Regions from separate parts of the Homo sapiens genome. Here regions 1, 2, 3, 4 and 5 are each linked to region 6. Evidence: promoter capture Hi-C in 16 types of primary human blood cells and fetal thymus (Javierre and others, 2016). All regions are on one chromosome and are shown on one strand. Each heading gives the region's core, a stretch centred on a gene start or on the middle of the fragment in contact. The rest is flanking DNA. Distances are from core to core; before and after follow the strand shown.

What was found. The method cuts DNA at HindIII sites, captures the fragments that hold promoters and counts their contacts. A CHiCAGO score of 5 or more calls a contact.
Region 1: a fragment that was not itself captured here is called in contact with the fragment with the promoter of ERI1 in region 6 in 1 of 17 cell types (activated CD4 T cells); the score reaches 5.1 in activated CD4 T cells.
Region 2: a fragment that was not itself captured here is called in contact with the fragment with the promoter of ERI1 in region 6 in 6 of 17 cell types (M0 macrophages, naive B cells, total CD4 T cells and 3 more); the score reaches 7.1 in M0 macrophages.
Region 3: a contact is called between a fragment that was not itself captured here and the fragment with the promoter of ERI1 in region 6, in 3 of 17 cell types (M2 macrophages, naive CD8 T cells and M0 macrophages). The highest score is 7.4, in M2 macrophages.
Region 4: a fragment that was not itself captured here is called in contact with the fragment with the promoter of ERI1 in region 6 in 1 of 17 cell types (total B cells); the score reaches 5.5 in total B cells.
Region 5: a contact is called between a fragment that was not itself captured here and the fragment with the promoter of ERI1 in region 6, in 5 of 17 cell types (total B cells, naive CD8 T cells, naive B cells and 2 more). The highest score is 12.6, in total B cells.

Annotation. Positions count from the first base shown.
Region 1 is chr8:8,314,799-8,318,681 of GRCh38, reverse strand. PRAG1 (PEAK1 related, kinase-activating pseudokinase 1) reads left to right here. Exons shown (of 6, transcript NM_001080826.3): 6 at 1-946. The coding sequence ends at 528. Among named protein-coding and RNA genes, the nearest start is that of PRAG1, 70 kb to the left of the region's middle. The HindIII fragment of the contact is 7,469 bases long and covers 1-3,883 here.
Region 2 is chr8:8,336,229-8,339,938 of GRCh38, reverse strand. It overlaps PRAG1 (PEAK1 related, kinase-activating pseudokinase 1), which reads left to right. Exons shown (of 6, transcript NM_001080826.3): 4 at 304-461. Among named protein-coding and RNA genes, the nearest start is that of PRAG1, 48 kb to the left of the region's middle. The HindIII fragment of the contact is 4,489 bases long and covers 1-3,710 here.
Region 3 is chr8:8,376,697-8,380,749 of GRCh38, reverse strand. PRAG1 (PEAK1 related, kinase-activating pseudokinase 1) reads left to right here. Exons shown (of 6, transcript NM_001080826.3): 3 at 2,672-4,053. Among named protein-coding and RNA genes, the nearest start is that of PRAG1, 7.7 kb to the left of the region's middle. RefSeq lists an enhancer at 3,726-4,053. The HindIII fragment of the contact is 3,713 bases long and covers 871-4,053 here.
Region 4 is chr8:8,357,208-8,361,267 of GRCh38, reverse strand. All of the region lies in intron 3 of PRAG1 (PEAK1 related, kinase-activating pseudokinase 1), which reads left to right. Among named protein-coding and RNA genes, the nearest start is that of PRAG1, 27 kb to the left of the region's middle. The HindIII fragment of the contact is 324 bases long and covers 2,127-2,450 here.
Region 5 is chr8:8,270,004-8,273,793 of GRCh38, reverse strand. No RefSeq gene overlaps it. Among named protein-coding and RNA genes, the nearest start is that of FAM85B, 44 kb to the right of the region's middle. RefSeq lists a silencer at 3,113-3,407. The HindIII fragment of the contact is 3,264 bases long and covers 794-3,790 here.
Region 6 is chr8:9,000,726-9,004,774 of GRCh38, reverse strand. ERI1 (exoribonuclease 1) reads right to left here and starts at 1,878. Exons shown (of 7, transcript NM_153332.4): 1 at 1,604-1,878. The coding sequence starts at 1,711. LOC105379227 (a long non-coding RNA gene) reads left to right here and starts at 2,033. Exons shown (of 3, transcript XR_002956680.2): 1 at 2,033-2,114. The HindIII fragment of the contact is 5,155 bases long and covers 914-4,049 here.

The DNA.
Region 1 (3,883 bases), core at 316-2,815, 690 kb after region 6:
CAGAAGAAGAGCCAGGCCCGGCTGGCCCCCGAGATCGTGTCTGCTTCCCAGTACCGCAAGTTCGATGAGTTCCAGACAGGCATCCTCATCTACGAGCTGCTGCACCAACCCAACCCGTTCGAGGTGCGCGCCCAGCTGCGGGAGAGAGACTACCGGCAGGAGGACCTGCCGCCGCTGCCCGCGCTGTCCCTCTACTCACCCGGCCTGCAGCAGCTGGCACATCTGCTACTGGAGGCCGACCCCATCAAGCGTATCCGCATCGGCGAGGCCAAGCGCGTGCTGCAGTGCCTGCTGTGGGGGCCTCGGCGCGAGCTGGTGCAGCAGCCGGGCACCTCGGAGGAGGCGCTGTGCGGCACGCTGCACAACTGGATCGACATGAAGCGGGCCCTGATGATGATGAAGTTTGCGGAGAAGGCGGTGGATCGCAGGCGGGGCGTGGAGCTGGAGGACTGGCTTTGCTGCCAGTACCTGGCGTCTGCGGAGCCCGGGGCCCTCTTACAGTCGCTGAAGCTCCTGCAGCTTCTGTGAGCCAAGCCCCAGCCTGCACCGTCGCTGCCCCTTCCCTGCCTAACCCTTTCCTGTCTCGCCTTGGAAGCACCCATGTCTCCCTGGGAAATGGTACAGATGACTGGGATACCTGGATGTAAAATATATAAATATATATATAGAAAATACATATACCATATATAAATATGAAAGACTAAGGATGCTGTTGCCCGTCCACACTCGTCTCCTCTCTGCACTAAGTCCTCCCTGTTTTCTTCTGTAATTATACACATTTCCAGTTCCATGCAACGTCCTGAGGACAGTTCTGTGAACTGAATGCAGCCTGGACACTGGCCTCAATACCTTGTTTAGGATTTCTTCACCCTTTTGTCAAATTGTTATTTAAAGAAAAAAAAAAAAGAAGAAAATTCCATTAAAATTTTTTTTGGTTGAGTCATGAGCAAAGCTCTTTATCCTTAAGTGCCTGAGTGTATTAATATGTTTGGTGGGTAAAACGGAGCTGTCTTTGGTCTTAACGCTTTTCAGGAGATAGAGCAGCAGTCTGCAAAGGACCAGGCAAGTGGGTACCAATTCATCTTCCCTGTTTCTCTTCCCACCTGGCAGCCTTCTGGAAAGAATCCAGACACAGCCGCTGTGATCCCAGTGGTTTGGAATTCAAACCCATTTCCAGTTTGCTAAAGCTGGTTGCCATTTGTAAAATTCAGAGACGTGCCTGAAAACAGAGTCCACCCCAGATGGCTCAGATGAAAAGAACTTAAGGGGACCACTTAGCTAGGTGTGATCAGGGTTATGAGAACAAAGGGTGACAAGGCCAAAAGCAAGGGCCAGAACAGCAGGACAGGGGAACATACAGGAGGTATTCGCGCTGAGATCTCTACAGCCGGAGATGGGAGTCTCTGTTTCCCATCTGTCATCTCCAACCTAATAGGATGCCAGACAGCAAGGGACCTTGGGTGATGCAGTCTGGAGGATCAGCCTCCTGGGGCAGGGAGGAGGGAGAGAATGCATGGGACGCCAGGTGGCAAACGGCCCACTGTTCCTACCGTACTAGATACTGGCAGGGCAAGCATAGAATTCAGGTGTTTCAACTCCCAGGCCAGTACTCCCTCTGCTGTTCGGGCCTCCTTCAAGTCTCCTTTTCTAAAACCTCATTTAACGCACCCATTGGCACCTACAGCTTACTGGAGTCAATGTTTGTTACTATGCCTTTAAAAACACACAAGGAAAATTAGGAGGCATCAGATCTTTCCTCCTCAAAACTAGACACAGGCACGAAAGTCAAAAATTACCTATTTGAAGAGAAATAGCCCCAAGACTCTTGTATTTCTACCTAATGGGTAATCTTCCAACTACAGAACTAATTGATTTCTAAAACCTTGTGAATAACTCTGGACAAATTAAAACAAATACAAAGATCTGAATGGATGTTTTAGAAACCTGGGGATGCACTTAGCAGGAAGGATAGGGAACTCTCCCAGGTCCTCTTCTGCATATTAATTTCAATCCTTTTGTGAGTTCCACCTTCCAGCCCCTGACTACATGTAAACACATTCATCTTTCCATGCATCGTTGGTGAAGACAGCACCTGGGGCGCATTTGTAATTTCAATTGTTTCCTGAGCATTGAGGAAAGAACTGAACCAAAACCAGCTCCCAACCCGTTTGTACAAGAGAAGGAGTCTGCAAACGTGGAAATCATATTTCTCCCCAGGACCTATCTGTTTCGGGGGGGCATTATTTGCCAGTTCTTTCTTTGTCCCTCGGAATTTTCCAGGCAAACCTTCTGCCATCAATTTGCTGTCTTTTGCTTTTTTGTCCTTTTTCACTTCAAGTAAATAAACAATGGAGAGGGAGGAGCAAATATTCTGACAGGGGAATGCAGTGCCATTAGAAAATAAGGCCCAGCGTGGTGGCTCATGCCTGTAATCCCAGCAATTTGGGAGGCCAAGACATGTCAATCACCTAAGGTCAGGAGCTTGAGACCAGCCTGGCCAACATGGAGAAACCCTGTCTCTACTAAAAATACAAAAATTAGGTGGGTGTGCATGCCTGTAATCCCAGCTACTCAGGAGGCTGAAGCAGGAGAATCACTTGAACCCAGGAGGTGGAGGTTACGGTGAGCCAAGATCATACCACTGCATTCCAGCTTGGGTAACAAGAGTGAGACTCTATCAAAAAAAAGAAGAAAGAGAAGAAAAGAAAAGAAAGAAAAAGAAAGAAATAAAGGAAAAAAGAGAAAGAAAGAGAAAAAAAGAAAGGGAAAGAAAGAAAGAAGGAGAGAGAAAGAAAGAAAGAAAGAAATGTCTTAGGAGCCACATTTTTAATTCCTGAATTAATTGCAACTTTTTTATACCACCCACTTCAGAAAAAAAAAATGAGGTTGTAAAAACTGTTCTAAGAACCAACATGAACCAAAAAATAAAGGATAAAGAAGAAACAATAGCAATAAATTCTGAATGAGAGGAATAAGAGCAATTAAACATAAAACTTACTTCTGAGCTGTCCACCAACCTATAAAAAGAAAACTGGTTGCAGAATTCTTTTTTGTGTGCAATTTTAGGAAACAGTTCGTCAGAAGGAAGAAATTTTTGCCCAGTGCTTGGTTCTGAAGGAAATTTGTCAAGGATTCTTTGTTTGAAGACATTGAATAATGCCCCAATAGCAGTTTTAAAAAGAAAAAAAAAAAAAAAGAATTTTTTGAACATAGGTGTCATGAGCGATGCCAGGTTAAAAATAACCAGGTCCACACATGCTTGTGTCTTTCCAGAATGTCAGGCTTTTATTGATGCTAATTCAGTCACAAAAGCCAGAGGCTACATGGAGTTCCCAAGGAAGCAATTCTCTTTAGTACCTCCTGTTCTCTTGGTAGTCAGAGCCGCAGGCACACAGGCTTGAGCCACTCCACAAGTCAGTCAATATGGGAAACCATACATAATAGTATGCTTAATCAATATACATATATTACAGATTAAACATTCCACAATAAACAAAGTAGCATTGAACATGAAGAGGAGAAAGAGATAGGAGAAAGGTTAAGGAACCAGTCCAGTGGGAGCAGGTCAGTCTTGCAAGGAAAAGTGTTTGAGGTGGCAGAAGCAGATGCCAAGTTCTTATCATGAGTGACTGCAAGACAGTATCAGTTAAGACAGCCCCATTTCGAGCTGCTGAAGGCCTGACATTTTAAAGTCACAGAGGCCTCTGGTGAGAACTGATCTTGGACGAGTGTCCTTGTTTGTGTCTTTATCTGATTGGATGCAATCTTTATCTTTTTTATTTATTAAACAAAACATCTTATCCTTGTTGGCAAAGTGCCCTCTGAAACATAAAATGAAGTCTTATTCTAAGATGGAGTTTGTTATATCAAGGGTACTCTATAC
Region 2 (3,710 bases), core at 817-3,316, 670 kb after region 6:
CAACTGTTTTGGCAGATGGGGTCAGAATATGAAGGCAATTCCTTCCATGTAAGAATTTTGGTGCTTGTTTAAATTTAATAGACTCGCTTCTCCTAACCACACTCTGGAAGTCTCCTGTCATTCATGCACATAAGAACTCAGAAGAGAACCTCTACTGTCTCCCCAAAATCTTTTTTTTTTCTTTTAATAAACTTGCTGACATTGGCCAGGTTTCAAGAGCATGGTAAGTTCATGATCCATCAGCCTGGTTTCTGAATGGAAATCCAATGAGTTATTTGTATTGTTTGTTCCTACCTTTTCCAGGCACCTTCTAAAAATGAACAAGAGCAGCTCTGATTTGGAAAAAGTGAGCCAGGGCTCTGCAGAAAGCCTCAGCCCATCCTTCAGGGGTGTCCACGTCAGCTTCACCACCGGCTCCACGGACAGCCTGGCCTCAGACTCTAGGACCTGCAGCGATGGAGGTAACAAACTTGACATTGACGGAGAGGCTTAGATTCTCCTGGACCTTCAAGACCAGTCCTGCGTTGCTTGCGGGATTGGAAGGGCTGAGCAAGGACTACTGTCTTGGTCCTGCTTTCTCAATGAAGTAGACTCTTCCAGGGAGCTGTTGAAGTCAATTATCTACTGAATATATGGCAAGCCAGCCCATCCATATTGCCCTCTCCAAATTATAAGAGTGTGGACGTGGCAACATGGTGGGAGGAAGATGAGGTTGAAAGGCTCCTATTTCCTTGGGTAATGAGCCATCTGTGTACAGGCCTGCTTTTTACTTCTGTCCTCAGGATGGGTCCTAAACCACACATTCTCACTATCTCTTTCTCTCTCTCTCTCTCTCTCTCTTTTGCATCTACATGTGCATGTACCCACATGTACACACTTACTGGACACAGCAGATGTTTACATAATGTTTGCTGAATTAAGCATGAAGACTACATTAGGCCACCATCTAGCCTGCTTTTTGGATTAAGCTCTAAGGCCTATGGGTGGGTCTGTCCTCCACTGGGCATGTCCCTAAAAAGGAACTCTTGTTTTTCCATAGTTGTGGCCTGGATGGGTCATATTTAAAACCTCTCACCCTTTCAGCATTCTTTGTGTATGTGTCCTCTCCTGCGTTTCTCTTAGACTTGCGTTAGCATGTTGGATTTAGACTTGTACTCACATGACTTCCTTTTTCAGTCCTATGGAAATATTTCTTCTCAATAGGCAATGACACAGTAGAGGGTTCCATTGCAAATTTACTGTCAGCAACATTATTCTACCTAAACAATAGGTACTGGCTGAGACAAAAGAGTGTGTTATAAGTCAGTCTGTGGTGTGTTCTGATGAGAAACCTCTGACAGTTCTTACTTAAAAACAGGAAATATCTTAGTCTTGATTTGGGAGGAATGTAGCAACAACAGATTTTCTTTTTCTGTAGATTTTTCTAGGCTCTTATCTTCTTCCTTTTCCCAGCCCATTGTATAACAAATTCAACAAGGCAGATTATTCCATAGAGGGCAGTGCATCTCGACCACGAGCCCCTGTGCTGGTTAGCTCTGATCCACTCTCTTGGAGATTGTAACCAGTTCTGGGGAGTGATCTACAATGAACCATCAGTCACCAACCAGCGGGTGTCAGGCGAACTGGACTTCATGGCTTCACCACTTTGTTTCCCAGAACCAGTAAACCATGACGTCCACTCGCAGGGTTCCTAAGAACTGACTAGGAAAGATAAGGTTAAAACACATGGTACATGGGTGGATGGGATATGGTAGGATATTGGGCAGCCCAGAACATGAGTGCTTCTTATAAAGGCTTCCAGAAGAGACAGAAATCAATGAAGGCTGGTGGAGGGTTTAGGGAAGACTTTATGAGAACATGGGACTTAGAGATCAGATCTGAAATGTGGCCAGAACTGGGGAGGTAGGGGGTGAGGAGGAGAGGGCTTTCCAGGTTTAGAGAACAATAAAAGAGAAACAAAGCCACAGGGATGGCAGTGCATGTGGGAGAAGGATGAGACCAGTCTGACATGCTTCAATAGACACCGGCAAGGGGAAATGGGACATGAGCTTGGTGGGAAGCAGGGGCTGAATTGTACACGGCTCTCACAGCAATCTGTGCAGGTGGGAGACAGAGAGCTGCCGGAGGTTTGTGAGTTCAATGCTGGAGGTTTGCGAGTTCAACGGGGAAACCTATTCAGACGTTTTCTCATGTTCGTTTCTGAATAACATGAATTAAAATGAATATATTGTCGTGGTATTCCTTTATCACAAGCTAGTTGTTCAGTAGAAATGCATTTCAAAACTTAGACTCCCAGACCAACAAGAAGATATGTACCTTGTCCCTGGACTCTAGCCCCTGAGAGCCAACCATTCTATCTGCTGCCCCTGGACATGGCTCTCTGTACCCGGAACCATGTTTTGAAACTGGCAAGAGACCAAAGGCATGACATTCTTTCTCTCTCTCTCTCTTTCTCTCTCTCTCTCTCTTCTTTTTGACATCTTTTAAACATTAATCATTAATCTGGAGAATATACAGAACTACTGGTCATGTAATATGAGAAATCCTTCATTCACTTCTCACCGCTTACCAAGGCAGCTTAGATTTGTTATTGCACAATTATCTTCCAGTCCCATGGGTCCTTAACTCACTTTTATCTTGTAACTGAAATATTTATCCATTGCAACTTTAGTTACTGTTTGGCATGCAGTACCAAAGCTGAGAGATTAGATCCAAATAGAAAAAGAACTAGTTCACGCTGAAGTTCTTTGAAACTTGAATGTAGTGTCTGCCTTTCTAATATTATACATTAAGCCAAAAGATACCATTAGACTCTTCTACATTTATTTTGTCAGTAAGAATCTGCTAGTGAAAACTATGCGTTTCATTGACTTTTTCCATCCACAGTATAGGCTGGCCTGAATGAATGGAGGAAAAAGTCATTCCAGGGCATATCATGATAGTAGTTTGTGTAAACTTCTTGGAAATGTATCAGCGTTAATGGCTAAAGTTAGTGATTCATGCTTTATGTCGGAGGTGGGGGGAGGGGGGAAAGGGGTGTGGGGAGGGGAGTGGGGGGAAGGTTTTAGTTGTATAAGGAAAACCCTAATAGAAATCTCTAACTTTGTTACATTTTTAAAACAGGTGTTTATTCTAAATGTTTCAGTGGCAAAATGCCACTTTTGTGTCAATGTTAATTTCACCTTTTTATACTTTTATCAGAGTCAATGGCTGAAGTTAATGATTTGCGTTTTATGGGTGGGGGGAGGTTTTAGTTGTATAAGGAAAACCTAATCGAAATCTCTTACTTTGTTACATTTTTAAAACAGGTGCTTATTCTAAATGTTACAGTGGCAAAATGCCACTTTTGTATCAATGTTAATTTCACCTCTTTATACTTGTATCAGATTACATATTCCTCCAGTGCATCTGTTATCCCATTTGTCCAATTCAATTGAACAGCCAGTCAACTCAGTGCAAGGAAAATTTGTCGAAGCAGTTGTTTGGTTTATGCTTGGTTTAGGAGGTACAGACTGCATGTGTCAGGACAGATCCATGAAGGCTGCCAAGGGGAAGGTTTTTGCAGGGAATGGATGGTTGGACGTGTGAGGGAAATGATGATCAGAAATGGTCATCAAGAGACCTTTTTGCTTTAAGTGGTTACTTGTAAATTTGCAAACCTAATGTCTCATTGAGATCATTTCCCTCTTTGATGTAGGATACCATTAAAA
Region 3 (4,053 bases), core at 1,478-3,977, 620 kb after region 6:
TCCTGAGTAGCTGGGATTACAGGCACCCACCACCATGCCCAGCTAATTTTTGTATTTTTAGTAGAGATGGGTTTCACCACGTTGGCCAGGATGGTCTCGATCTCTTGACCTTGTGATCTGCCCACCTCGGCCTTCCAAAGTGCTGAGATTATAGGCGTGAGGCACCGCTAATTTTTCTTTTCTGTCACTCAGGCTGGATCTCAGCTCACTGCACCTTCTGCCTCCAGGGTTCAAGCAATTCTCCTGCCTCACCCTCCCAAGAAGCTGGGGCTATAGGTACATACTGCCATGCCCAACTAATCTTTGTATTTTTAGTAGAGACGAGGTTTCACCATGTTGGCTAGTCTGGTCTCTAACTCCTGACCTCAAGTGATCCACCTGCCTCAGCCTCCCAAAGTGCTGAGATTATAGGCGTGAGCCACCGCGCCTGGCCTATTTTTTTAGTTTTTAATTTTTATTTTATTTATTTATTTTTTTTTGAGACAGTCTCAGTGTTGCTCAGGCTGGAGTGCAGTGTTGCGATCTCGGCTAACTGCAATCTCCACCTCCCAGGCTCAAGTGATCCTCCTGTCTCAGCCTCCTAGGAATCTAAGACTAGAGGTACATGCCACCATGCTTGGCTTATTTGGCGTTTTTTTGTTTTTGTTTTTGTTTTTTGGTGGAGATAGGATCTTGCTGTCTTGCCCAGGCTGGTCTTAAGTTCCTGGTCTCAAACTCCTAGGCTCAAGTGGTCCATCTGCCTCAGCCTCCCATAGTGCTGGGATTATAGGCATAAGCCACCATGCCTGGCCCCACACTTCAGAATATTAGCAGTAATTCCTTAATATTATCTAATACCCAGCCAGTACTCCTGTTTCCAATTTTGAAGCTTGGATTTTACCAGCTTTCTTCTAGGGTCACTAAAAACAGTTACAACCTAGAGGCTAGACCATTCTGCTCATTCCACAGGTAACCTTTACAAACTCAGAGGGCACATAGCCCGGGTCTGCTGGCATCTGCTGTCTTTAGACACATTTAGGAAGCTATGTGGCTAAGACATATCCTAGGAACTGCTTGCTACCTGTTTGACCTCTTTGCCTGTTCTAGTTTTCTTGACCAATATGGTGAGTAGGTCAGGAAGGCTGTGTGAGCATATATGAAAACTAAGGTCAATTCTAAATCAGGGGAGTCTTCATTGAGGAGAGGCATTTCCTTTGGTTGCAGTGAACTTGATGTCCCCTTCCGGGCTGCTCTGTTTTTTCCTAAGCTGCTTACACCCATTCTCCAGGCCATTCTCAATACCTTCAACCTTCACCAACCTGAGCCAGGGACTCTTTAAGCTCAGAATCACCTGGGAAAGAAGCCAGAGGCAGGCCCTGCTTTGAGGCTGCTTCTAAAAGTGGGGGTAAAGGAGGACTTTAGACCAGAAGGAGGAGGAAACGGTGACTTCAGGGATGGTAATGACCAGTCCACATCTCTGTCTCATAGCCCAACGAGTCCAACCACTCGCACAGGCTCAGGCTGAGGTCACTGCTGTAGGCGGGAGAAAGATGACCTCTGGCATAGTTGGAAGCAAAGCACAGAAAGAAGCGAGGAAGCCCAGGTCCAGTTCAGAAGCCACCCCTCACCCTGATCCAGCTCAGAAAACACCCCTCACTCTGATCCAGTTCAGAAGCCACCCCTCACCCTGATCCAGTTCAGAAACCACCCCTCACTCTGATCCGGTTCAGAAGCCACCCCTCACCCTGATCCAGTTCAGAAACTACCCCTCACTCTGATCTGGTTCAGAAACCACCCCTCACCCTGATCCGGTTCAGAAACCACCCCTCACCCTCCTGTTCTGCCCACACCCACCCACCCAATGTGTTTCTTTTTTCTTTATTATTATTATTATTAATTATCATTATTTTTGGTACAGGGTCTGGCATTGTCGCCCAGGCTGGAGTGTGGTGGTGTGATTTGGGTCACTGCAACCTCCGCCTCCTGGGCTCAAGACATCCTTCCACCTCAACCTCCCAAGTAGCTGGGACTGTAGGTACACACCACCACGCCCACCAAGTTTTTGTATTTTTTTGTAGAGATGGGATTTGGCCATGTTGCCCAGGCTCGTCTTGAACTCCTGGGCTCAAGCAATCTGCCCTCCTCGGCCCACCATAGTGCTGGGATTACAGGTATGAGCCACGGCATCTGGCTCCAGTGTGTTCAGTGTGTTTTAAAAACACTTAAGACTTCGATTTCTTCAGGCATGCACTGTGATTGGGTTATCAAAAAACCCACAAACTCAAAGCAAAAATTAAACAAAACCCCAAGCTCCATTTTCCAATCCAGTGGAACAACTTGTGTCACCCAGCAGCTGGTTGCAAGGGAGGAAGAAGGCACAGTGTTCTTTTTCAGAGTTATATTTTTCTTTTCCTACTTCACAGACTTAAGCCAAAAGCATTACAGTCCATGGGTAGGAAGGGCAGCTCAGTGTCTGGGAAGACAAATGGCTCAGCGGGTGCCCCAGCAATGATCACAGGGCCGTGGGGAGATGAGAAGGTGGGCGTGCACTGAGTCCCCGGCCCCAGCGCCCCTGCACTGCACTACAGAAGACATTCTACAGTATCGTTGCCCTTCCCTCTCACTTTTCCTCTCTCTCTTTTTTCTATGACAAGTTCTAATATAAGTCTTTTTGCGTTGGGCTTGTGTGTAGGTCATCTGGAGACGAGCCCCTGGCAAGCTCCCCCTCCCGAAGCAGGAGGATGCCCCCGTCGTCTACCTGGGCAGCTTCCGAGGTGTACAGAAGCCTGCTGGTCCCTCTACCTCCCCTGATGGCAATTCTCGCTGTCCCCCAGCTTACACCATGGTCGGCCTGCACAACCTTGAGCCCCGCGGCGAGAGGAACATTGCCTTCCACCCGGTGAGCTTCCCGGAGGAGAAGGCTGTGCACAAAGAAAAACCCTCATTTCCTTACCAAGACCGGCCCTCCACCCAGGAGAGCTTCCGCCAGAAACTGGCTGCCTTTGCTGGGACCACATCTGGCTGTCACCAGGGCCCTGGGCCCCTGCGGGAATCCCTGCCCTCGGAGGATGACAGTGATCAAAGGTGCTCGCCCTCCGGGGACAGCGAGGGTGGAGAGTACTGCTCCATCCTGGACTGCTGCCCTGGGAGCCCTGTTGCCAAGGCTGCCTCCCAGACTGCAGGTTCCCGGGGCAGGCATGGTGGCAGGGACTGCTCACCCACGTGCTGGGAGCAGGGGAAGTGTTCCGGGCCCGCAGAGCAGGAGAAGCGGGGCCCGAGCTTCCCCAAGGAGTGCTGTAGCCAGGGCCCCACTGCCCACCCATCCTGCCTGGGCCCCAAGAAACTGTCCCTCACCTCGGAGGCTGCCATTTCTTCCGACGGCCTCTCTTGTGGCAGCGGCAGCGGCAGCGGCAGCGGCGCCAGTAGCCCCTTCGTCCCCCACCTCGAGAGTGATTACTGCTCCCTCATGAAGGAACCTGCCCCAGAGAAGCAGCAGGACCCTGGCTGCCCAGGGGTGACCCCTAGCAGATGCCTTGGGCTGACGGGGGAGCCCCAGCCCCCGGCCCACCCCCGGGAGGCTACACAGCCTGAACCCATCTATGCTGAGAGCACCAAGAGGAAGAAGGCAGCTCCGGTGCCTTCCAAGTCACAGGCCAAGATAGAACATGCAGCTGCTGCCCAGGGCCAAGGCCAGGTATGCACAGGTAATGCCTGGGCCCAGAAAGCAGCATCTGGCTGGGGCCGGGACAGCCCAGACCCAACTCCCCAGGTGTCAGCCACCATCACAGTCATGGCGGCCCACCCGGAAGAGGACCATCGGACGATCTACCTGAGCAGCCCTGACTCTGCAGTGGGGGTGCAGTGGCCACGAGGGCCTGTGAGCCAGAACTCCGAGGTAGGTGAAGAGGAGACTTCGGCTGGGCAGGGGCTGAGCTCCAGGGAAAGCCATGCTCACAGTGCCAGCGAGAGCAAGCCCAAGGAGAGGCCCGCCATTCCCCCCAAGTTGTCCAAGAGTAGCCCTGTAGGGTCCCCGGTGTCACCGTCTGCTGGAGGGCCCCCAGTGTCACCGCTGGC
Region 4 (4,060 bases), core at 1,039-3,538, 640 kb after region 6:
AGCAATGTAAAAAGGATATTCAGAATCTTCCCTTTCCTCCCCTACTAAGAGGTCAACTTCAACGTTCTTTCCTTTAAGGGAAGTTCCTCAGTGAGGGGGACATTGACTTTGTAAATGCTCCCCTAACTGGGTCTGAGGTCCGAAGTCTGAAAAAGGAACTCAAGCTACTGTTAGATGATCCTTATGAGATGTCAGATCAAATTGATCACTTTTTAGGCCCTCAGTTATATACTTGGGCTGAATTAATTTCCATCCTGGATATCCTCTTTTCAGGGGAAGAAAGAAATATGATCCACAGAGCCGCTATGGCAATTTGGGAATGTGAACATCCTCCAGGTCAAAATATTCTGGCAGCAGATTACAAATTCCCTGCTCAGGAACCGCAGTAGGATAAAAATAATGCCACCCACTGAGATAATATGAAAGATTTAAGGGAAATAATAATCAAGGGGATTCAGCAATCAGCACCCTGAACCCAAAATCTTTCCAAGGCATTTAACATACAACAAGAAAAGGATGAAGGACCTATGAGATTCTTGGACTAAGAGAACAGATGAGAAAATATGCAGATTTAGACCAAGAAAGCCCCCTTGGGCAAGGAATGTTAAAACTGCACTTTGTTACTAAGAGTTGGCCAGACATTGCTAAGAAGTTACAAAAATTAGAGAACTGGAAGAATAAGTCAATAGAGGAGTTGTTAGGAGAAGCTCAGAAGGTATATTTGAGGAGAGATGAGGAAAGACAAAGGCAGAAAGTGAAAATCTTTTGGCAGAATTCACCAGGACAGATGATGTAGGGGGCTAAGTCTAGACCCACACCTGTAGGATTTTCTAGAGGAGGCAAGAGGAGAAATTTTGGTAATTCAGGAATGCAGAGAGAATGAAGGCAAGGTCAGTATTTTAGAGGAGAAGGTAAAAGTAAGTGCCATAGGGGCTGTGGATATGAAAATAAAGAGAAGAAGAAAAGGGGCCCTGGGCTTGGAAGACAGGGAGGGCAAGACAGATGTTACAGATGTGGGAGGCCAGGTCATTTTAAGAACGAATGTCCTGAATTGGAAAAAGCAGAGGAAGCTCTCCCATTTGTGACTACTTCTGAAGAAGAATAGAGGGGTCAGGGGCTCTGTCTTTTCTATTTCGAGTCCCACCAAGAGCCCTTGATAAATTTAGAGGTGGGACCCAAACATGAATTAATCACCTTTTTGATTGACTCAGGAGCTGCTCACTCATCTGTTGGTTTTCCTCCAGCTGATTTAGCTCGTTCCTCAGAGGAATTGACAGTTTCCAGGGTCAAAGGAGAAGGATTTAAGGCAAAAATTTTAGAAAATATGGAAGTTAAATATCAAGATCAATCGACTTGTATACAATTTTTATTAATTCCTGAAGCAGGAACCAATTTGTTAGTAAGGGATTTAATGATAAATTAGGTATAGGTTTGCAAGTTGGTCCAAAAGGTTTTCTAACCTCTTTAAATTTGTTAACTGCGATAGATGAAAAATACATACATCCAGATGTCTGGTCAAGGAAACTGAGGAAAGCTACGAATTCCTCCAATACATATTTGGTTAAAAACTCCAGGGGAGGTAGTAAGGAGAAAGCAATACCGTATTCCTTTATAAGGAAGAATAGGGTTAAAGCCTGTAATTGAAGGACTTATTAAAGATGGGCTGCTCAAACCTTGTATGTCCTCATCCAATACTCCAATTTTACCAGTCAAGTAATCAGACGGGTCATACTGATTAGTGCAAGACCTTAGAGCTATCAATCAGATAGTCTAGACGACTCATCCTGTTGTACCTAATGCTATTTCTAATTGGCTAGAAGGATGGTCCGGTCAATAGAAAGAAACTGTAGCCTCAATTCTTACTTCTATAGCAACTGTAATAGGCATACTCCTTCTTCTTGGGTGTTGTATTATACCATGCATCTGGGAATTAGTAATAAGATTAACAAAAACAACTCTTACTAAAACCCATCTTAACTCTCCTCCACCTTATTCAGAAAAAATTCTCCTTTTAGAAATTCAATCAGAGCAATTAAGCCAAGAAATATTAAAACAGTTTGAAGAGGAAAAACTATAAAAAAATAAGAGGAGGGAATTGTGAAAAGTAAAAAGTTCCTCTTCAAGCTTACCTTTTTTATTAAGGAATAAATCATAAGTGTTAGAACTAATAGTTTATCTTAAAGACTAGCTTTTAACAATAACTCTTCATTAAACCTTACATAGTCATTAAGTGTAAAAGGATAAGCATTTTATATATACATATACTTTAACTACAATATGAGTTTTGGCTTGCTCAGGCATGTCCCAGGTCACAGCTTATATCCCTTCCTTATTTGGAAATGTTATTGCTTCTATAAGCCTTTATGTAAGCAACTTCCTCTTTTCCTTTGTTTAGCACTGTCTTTACCTATTTAGGAAAGTTTTAGATTGTTAGCCAATTGGGCTAAGCTTAGACTGTGAGGTCCAGCTCCAGCCAGTGGAGGTAGGACAAAGCAATAGGGACTTCACCCATAAGGGATAAATATTCCTGTGTCTCTTTGTTCAGTGTGCTCTCGTGGCAGGATTGCTGATGGGCAGCACCCTTTCTGCAGAAAGTAAAATTGTCTTGCTGAGAAAACTTTTTGTCTGAATGCTGATTCTTCTTTGTAGCACCAAGGAATAAGCATTCCTTTCCAACAGAAATGATGTGTCTTTTTGTATGCTTATGAATTGACTGAGGGCTGGCAGCCCCTTGGTCACTTCAGTAGGGGAGTTGGTCACCTGAAAAACCAAGACAAGATTAGAGGGTTGAGACTTTCAGTCCCACTCCAACCCACAGGGTTGGGGAGAGAGGCTGAAGGTTAAGTTGATCACTAATGGCTGATGCTTTAATTAATCATGACTATGTAATGAGGCCTCCATAAAAACCTAAGAGGACAGAGTTCAGAGAGTTTCTGAATAGCAGAACCTCTGGGGTTTCCTTGAGGGTGGTTTGTCAGAGAGGGCATGGAAGCATCATGCCCCTTCCCACACGCCTTGCCCATGCTTCTCTTCTTCTGTATCCTTTGTGATATACTTTATAATAAACTTGTAAGCATTTCCCTGAGTTCTATGTGCAGCTCTAACAAATTAATTGAACCCAAGGAGGAGATTATGGGAGCCCCAATTTATAATTGATTGATCAGAAGCACAGATAAAACAACCTGGGCTTTGGATTGGCATTGGAAGTAGGGGGAAGTCTTCTGAAACTGAACCCTCAACCTGTGGGATCTGACTCTACCTCTAGGTAGATAGTGTCAGAATTGAATTGAATTTGGTAGCAACCAGCTGGTGTTTGCTGCAGAATTGATTGCTTGCATGGTGTTGGGGTGGACAACTAACAAGATCTGAGGTCACAGAAGTATTTTGTATTGTGACAGTATAGGAGGAACTGAATTTGTTTTTCCCATACATTCACAGAACCATATTGTGTTTATTCATTCGTCTGTTAATGGATACTTAAGTTGCTTCTACATTTTGGCTACTGTGAATAATACTGCTATGAACACAGGTAAGCAAATATCTGTTAGAGACCCTGTTTTCAGTTCTTTGAAATATATACCACAAAGTGGAATTGTTGGCTCATTTGGTGATTCTATTTCTAATTTTTTGAGGAACTGCCTTACTGTTTTCCATAGCAGCTGCACCATTTTGTATTCCCACTGACAGTGCACAAGGGTTCCAATTTCTCCACATGTGTCTTCAAAACTTGTTTTGTTTTTGTTTTTTATAGTACCCATCCTAATGGGATGAGTTGTTGTCTCATTGTGCTTTTGATTTGTGTTTTCCAAATGATTAAAGATGTTGAGTATCTTTTTATGTGCTTACTGGCCCTTGTGGGTTTTTGTTTTGTTTTGTTTTTTGACAAATTTAAGTTCTTTGACCAGTTTTTAATTGGATTGTTTGGTTTCTTGTTGTTGAGTTTTAAGTGTTGTTTGTTTATTTTGGATATTAACCGCTTATCAGATGTAGGATTTGAAATATATTCTCCCAATCCATGTGTTGCCTTTTCACTCTATTGATTATGTCCTTTGATGCACAA
Region 5 (3,790 bases), core at 1,176-3,675, 730 kb after region 6:
ATAACCTAGAGAAGAGATGGGGTCTTACTCTGTCGCCCAGGCTGGAATGCAGTGGTGCGACCTCGGCTCACTGCAACCTCTGTCTCCTGGGTTCAAGCAATTCTCCTGCCTCAGCCTCCCCAAGTAGCTGAGACGGGCTTTCACCATGTTGGCCAGGCTGGTCTCGAACTCCTGACATCAAATGATACACCTGTCTCGGCCTCCCAAAGTGCTGGGGATTACAGGTGTGAGCCACTGCGCCCAGCCTGGAAGTTCTCAAATTTTGATGTGCACATGAATTCCCTGAAGTCACATCGCTGCAGGTTCTGATTCAGCAGGTCTGGGATCAGGCTGGAGATTCTTACCAGTGAGGACACCCACACTGCTTGCCTGTAATCGCATTTCAGTAGCGAGGCCTGGAGTATTTGTAATGGTGTATAGCCCTCTGGTGGCCATAGCGGGAATGTACAACCATTTTGTTACACACTGGTACCTTCTTTTTCTGCGACTGTTAAAAAAATAAATCCCTCCCCAAAGCCAGCAACTGATGTAGCTGTAACCAGCATAATATTGGCAAAGCCAACATAGTTTATTAATTTGGACTCTATTAGTTGGGAATTTGGAGTCATTCCAGACAGACCACACTGCCAGTGACGATTAACGAAGAGACATGTTTAGTCTACTTAAACGCTAAGGCAAATGCATTTTTTCCAAAACAACATGAGAAACCAACCTCGTAGTAGCCTTTATATACAAATAATAAGTGAGTAACAAATGATTCATTTTTATTAGTTTTTTTAAAATTCTCTAAGCTTTTAATTTGATTCCCCTATCCCTGTCAAGTGCTGCCATAAATTGCGTTTTTTATACAGGGTTCTCCAATTCAGGCCTGTCTCTATGAATCAGACTAGCCTACTCTTTAATTAAGAAAAATGGGGCAGTTTTATAGTAATTTTGAATTTCTCAGACTTTTGGCTCCTCTCAGTCTATGCTTCTCAAACAGAAAATTAAAAAAGGGCTATAGCACTTGACTAACTATTGTCAGTGGTTCAAATTAAACAAAGAACGCATAAATGTTTGGAAGGTATTCAACTTAGGAAACACTACTTTTTTCTGTTTTTTTTTTTTTTTTTTGCTACAAATATGCTTCTTATTTTGAATGTTAATAGACACATTTCCTGGCTTTGCCATGGTAAATAGATAAATGTTCCAGAAATCATTCCATTTTTTGAGATAACAAAATTATTATCATTCTAGGATGGAAAGTGAACATCCTACCCAAAGAATGTACATATACGCAAACTCGAAGTCCACCTCATTGAAATAAACTTGCAAACTATTGTCAATATCAACTTGACGCTGACATAAACCTCTTACCTCATGTGTCACCCGTTATCACTGGACCGTAGCCCTGAGCAGATACTGGAAAATCGTTCACTGGCTCAGGGGAAGTTTCCTGAGAATAGTCATGACAGTGTCCCTGTTTGTATGTGGACGCTAAATGAGATCCCAAAATGAGACTGTTTGCTTTGCTGATTTTCCGTAGTATCATTATATCCCTTTATGTTACAAGAGTTTCACAGATCTTGTACATTCTAGGAAGTTTTATATGTTGATTCAAACCTTTTATTTATCAGCCTTATAAAAACAACTGGAGTAATTACTACTAATGATCTGGGCTTGGCAATTATTGAGAGAACTGTCTGCATAAATAATTTCAAAGGCTCCTGTTTGGGGGTTTAGGAGTTAGGGTGACTTTTTCTGTAAAGACTTGGTGAGAAGTACAGAAAAATGGTTATTTCTAGATGTTTCCCTACCCTTAGAGCCTCTAAAATCAAACAACAGTTTATATGCATTTCTGACTCAGGTTCATGTGGATCATGAATATAACCAGACGTCACCTGTTAATGGCCTTGATAGTTGGTTTATTAACCTTGATAGTTTCATTACATTTTAAAATATCTATCATAGAGATAAAGCAGGTGAATATTCCCCATGCCTAGCAGCTGGTTTTGCTTATCTGCAATTCATAAGTGTTCATTACATCAAGGTATAAGGAAGGAACAGAACCTGGATTGATACCTGAAATTCAAGACATCAGTCACTTTCTACTTTAAAATCTAATTGATCCCTTTCTTTAATTTATTTTTTGTTTGTTTTTGATTTTGTTGTTGCTGTTGTTGTTGTTTTGAGGTAGGGTCTCACTCTGTCACTCAGGCTGGAGTGCACTGGTGCAATCTCAGCTCTCTGCAACCTCTGCCTCCTGGGTTCAAACGGTTCTCCTGCCTCAGCCTCCCGAATAGCTGGGACTACAGGCACTCACCACTATGCCTGGCCAACTTTTGTATTTTTAGCAGAGACAGGGTTTCACCATGTTGGCCAGGCTGGTCTCGAACCCCTGGCCTCAAGTGATCCACCTGTCTCAGCCTCCCAAAGTGCAGGGATTACAGGCATGAGCCACCGTGCCCTGCTTAAATCTAATTTTATTTCCCTCCATGTCTTTCATTCTATGGAGTTTTTCTACTAAGTGAAGCTGAGAAAACAAAAGTAATAATTGGAGGGATGTTTAAGACAGAATTCGAAGCCAGCAGTTCCATATGCCAGCTTTTTGCAACAACTTAAAGGAAATAGTAAAGAAGCAACATTGGTTAGAACAAATGTATATTTCACTACCCAAACCCCCAAATCACACAAGAAATGGGGCACCCATGTTCTTCCATACCTTTGATGCCCATTATGACAACCACAAAAGCCACTGGAAAAAAAAATTAAACATTTATGGGATCTGTTTATCCAGAAGTTGAGTAAGGAAAGAGGTGGGGACAAGACACAGCTCCCAGTGGATGTGAGGAGTTTCCATCTCCCAGGAAGGAGCGACTAACACCAGCTTGGGGCTTCTTGCACCCCAAATATTAAATAATTCATTCTGTATTGTTACATTTCCTGACTTCTAAAAATCAAACATATATTTAAGATATAACCTGAAGTGTTAAGTAGGTAATGGGTACCAGTAATTCCCATAGGGGATAGAATCGGTTTACTCCGATGACCTCTCTCCTGCCTCTGCAAGACACTTAAGGAACAGCAGCTTTCACAAAGTAGAAGGAAAGGAAGGATGACTGTCGATTATGGACTTATCTCTGCCTCAGATGAGGCTGGCCAGAGTACACACTCAGTCTGTGGGTAGGGTGGGGCAGAGGAAGGAGGTATTTCTCTCTGGGAGTCATGGGGCAATGTACAGATAGGTAAATACTGAAAACCAAGTCCCTGGAAGAATGCAAAGTCAGGGCCAAAATAAACATTCCAAACTGGGACAGCAATCCCAGGAGCCAAACAATGAATGGGAAGTAAGGTAAGGTGCCAAATGGGTTAGAAAAACAAGGCAGAAGAGAACCGCGGAGAGAGAGTATCGGGCAAGACCCAAAGAGGGGGCCATGACTGAGAAGTCATGCAGACCACATTTAGAAGAACTAAAATGGCTCAGAACTAACACCCGCCCCCGACCCCTTTCCCAGCAGGCCTTCTCCTTTAGAATGTCTCTAGGTTTGCCTGGGAGAAGCCTCTAAAGATTTCTGGAGCCTGCATTTCAAAGAAGGAAAGTGGGCTCATTGTCACAGTGGATCAATTCCTGGAGCCCCTGTTGGGTCCTTGGCGGGTGCTCTTGGTGTCGCAGGGAGCTATGCAGAGTGGTGTGGATGTTTTCAAAAGAGGGAAGCTAGAGGCAGAAAGCCATAGGGTTGGTGGCCTCAGACACCTTGAAGGGCCCAGGAGGCCCTCTGGTTTCTGGAATATCAGCTCTGCAACAATCTGA
Region 6 (4,049 bases), core at 629-3,128:
CGGGAGGTTGCAGTAAGCTGAGACCATGCCATTGCACTCCAGACTGGGCAACAAGAACGAAACTCCGTCTCCAAAAAAAAAAAAAAAAAAGTATCATTACTATTATTTTTTGAGACAGGGTCTCACTCTGTCACCCAGGTTGGAGTGCAGTGGCACGATCACAGCTCACTGCAGCCTCCACCCATGGGCTCAGGTGATCCTCCCCACTGAGCCTCCCCAGTAGCTGGGACTACGGGAGAGGGCAACTACGACCGGCTTTTTGTAAAAAAAAAAAAAAAAAAAAAAAAAAGTATCACTATAAAGAGCATGCAACAGTAAGTTTTTAACAATTACTACCGTCACTAAAGCCAATTTGGAACAGAGACCTAGGCCTTAAGTAGCTGTAAAAGTGTCAAGACTTTCAAATATAAAGAAGCATATTCAAACACACTTCTTTTACTAAAAATAAACTTCGAAATTTATTTTAAAACCCACTTACAGGATGAGATTGACAACGTATCTCAGGCTGAAGAGGGAGGCAGGTGGAAGAGTGGTTCTTTACAAGAGAAGGGATGTGCAAGTACTCTTTGAAATAACAACCTTAGAAGGAGAAAGATAATTGCAAGGATCCAAAGGAAGTGCACACAGGGCAAAAGGAACATACAGAGATCCTTAACGAGACCTTCTTTCCAATGTCAAAGAACACAAGGCAGCGAGGGGCACTGGGAACAAAAGGGAAAAAACTGTGTGAGATGCAATTACCAAGGGAGGCAGGCACCCGACCCCGCAGAGCAGCAAATGGAAGTGACTCAGGAGGGGAATAAGCCAAATTCATGTTATTGAAAAGCTCATTCTAGCTGCCAGATGGAAACTGACTGTGGACGGAAGGAGCAAGAGTTAGGAGGCCTCTTGCAAATACGCACTTTATGAAGCTTTACGAAGTGTTCAACATGTTTATTATTAGGAAAAGATCAATTTTAGTATTCAATCACTTACAATCCGCAGCGCTAGTCAACAATTAACATTCGTTAAATAAGTTTTAAGACTGTTCTACAACTTTGCCACTGTAACTAAGTTCAACCGATGAGATGTCAAAATGATTCATTCAATCTTATACTATGGTTATATGAGACACCAGTTAATGAGCAAAAGCAGCTAAGACGAAGCTCCACTTAACAGGTACAGAGACAGGGATGCTGGTGAGTGCTTTTTAAATTTTTTCTTTTTTTAAAAACAGGCATGAAGTGACATACCTAGCGTATATGGTGAGATTTTAAAAACATAAAGCCTTGCAAACTACCCATAACGGCTACATGGAGTGACAACAGCAACCGTGAACACAGAATTAAGTTTAAAGCAAAACTCCCTCTTAGAACCTGTTAACCCACTGTAGACAGAACTGGTCTTGACGATTTCCTCCCTCCCAGAGAGTGATTCGGCCCTGAGGGGGCTCCAAGACACCCACCCGAGGATAAAGCCAGGGAGCTGGGCACCGAGGAAGAGGCTGGGGTCCAAGGGCGCACAGCTGCACCTTCTGCGGGACACCTGAGAAGAAAGGGGTGCCGAGGGCGCTTTGGGGACGGGGCAGCTGGCGCCAACAGCCAGGCGCGGGTCGACTCCTCACCTCGGGACTGGGACGCGGCGGCTCCTCCCCGCCCTCCGGCCGCGGCGACTCCAGCAGCGCGAGAGCCACGGCCTCGCCGGCAGGCTCTTTACTCTGTGGATCCTCCATGCCGGCTGTCACGCCAGAGGAGAGTTGCTGGAGCCGGACACTTGCTAACTCTCACTCTGCAGAGCCCGAAAGCCTCGCCTTTCTCCGTTGAAAAATTACCGGGCTCGCGTTCCCGCGGCGGCGGCCACACAAACTCCAGCGGCCACCTCCCACTTCCGGGAGCGTGTGGCGTCCACACGCCGGGCAGGCGCAGTGAGCCGGCGTGCGCGGAACGCCAGCGCCGCAGTCCACAGGGGGAGGGAGGACGAACAAGAGGGAGGCGCGCCGGTGAGAAGACGGGGCGTGGCCGGCCGTAGGCGGAGCTAGCGCGGGTTGAAGTTGCGCAAGGATCTAGTCCAGTCACTGGAGGGTAGCACCGGCACGTGTGTTCCCGTCAGTGTTTCCTGAGAAGGAAAAAAGTAGGGTGAGTGGGAAGATATCATAGAGAAAGATGTTTTCGACCATAAAAAATAATAAAACAATTCACATTTTCCATAAGGAGTTTCCTAAAACTTCCACTCTGGGCAAGAAAAGAAAATGGGTCGGGACTTAGTGTCCCACTATAAACAATTAGAAAACGGAACAAAATATAGGAGACACCTATTCAGACATTGGACAACGGACAGCTGTGGACTGTTTTACCTGAGAGAAAAGAAATAAAAGGAGCCGTATATCATCCTGCCCTTTTGCCCAGAGGCGATTTCCAGTCTGTGGTGCGATGAAAGGAAATCATATGGAAACCTAGGATCTCCTGGGTTGAAAAGACAGAGATTGGAGTTGACGAAATTGGGGTAGGCCAAGTCGGTTGGAATTTGTAGGGCAGAATTCTGGAGAGGAGGGAATTACATGGAAAAAGAGCTTCAGAAATCTGCTTAGGAGTACCTTGAATCTTTAACTGAATAAAAAACGTGAAACTCCACAAGGCCAGGAAAGAACAATTACTGGGGAGCAGTACACCAAACAATGGTGAGAGGTCACACAGAACTGGGAATCATTTGAGCTCCCAGCAACCAGAGTGAAGAGATTATTGAATACCATGGAACACGCAATAGAAACCTCAGATGTGAAACTGCCATTGCAAAATTATCATTGAGACAGTGAAAGAGATCAGACCTAACCAACTCCATCTTGCTTTTAACCTCCAGGCTATCCTTATTCATTCCTAGGCGTAGGCCAAACTAACACTGGGAGGAACTTAGTGTATAGCTTATAGTTTAAAACAAAGGTGATAGCCCTTTCTCAAAATAAACCCTCTTCTTGAGACTAGACTGCTTTTGTAGGACTAGTAAATTAGCCGAAAGATTAGAAATTATGATTTAGGACTCATGCAGCTGAAGGCTACAAGATTCTAACCCTCTCCAAATTGCTCCTGGGGATAATATCACTATTGTAAAATCTAAGATCAGTGCTTGAGATATTTTGCAGGCCCTGCACTTGATGGATCAGCTGGCACCTCCCAGATTGATAAACTGACTCACCTGATCTTGGATAAACTAGCTCATCTGATTTTGTGTCCCCCACGGGAGGAACTGACTCAGTGCAAGAGGACAGCATCGACTCCCTATGATTTCATCTCCTACCCAACCAGTCACCACTCCCATCTCACTGGCTTCTCACCCACCCAATTATCCTTAAAAACTCTGATCCCCAAATGCTCAGGGAGACTGATTTGATTAATAAAACTCAGGTCTCCTGCACTGCCAGCTCTGCATGAATTGCTCTTTATTGCAATTCCCCTGTCTTGATAAATCGACTCTGTCTAGGCAGTAGGCAAGATGAACCTTTTGGGTGGTTACGAAAGTGTCATGCCTTAGTGAGATATAATAACCGTAGACTGCAGGACCCAGAACATAAACTACTGTAGATTCTTCAAAAGCCTTAAAACAAGCCCTGAAAGGATCAAACTGCTCTGTAAGTAACCTAATTACCTGTAAGAACAAATTCTAAAACTCTCTGAAAGACTACAGTAAAATCCAGGATTCAACAACATTAAATTCAAAATGTGAGACATCCAGTCAAAAATTGAAAGACACGCAGCACTTGGGGATGCTGAGGCGGGAGGATTGCTTGAGCCCAGGAGTTTGAGGCTGCAGTGACCTATGATTGCACCACCACAACCCAGCCTGGGTGACAGGGTAAGACTCTGTCTCAAAAGAGAGAGAGAGAGACCAAGTGGTAAGAAAATATCTCACGAAGTTCATAGAAACAAACCCCAAAATGATAAAAATGATGGAATTAACAGACAAGGATTTTAAACACCTGTTATGAATATGCTCAAAGATTTAAAGGAAGACATGATAGGAGAGAAACTGGAAAGATTTTTGAAAAATCAAATTTCTGGATGGAGGTGAAAAATATT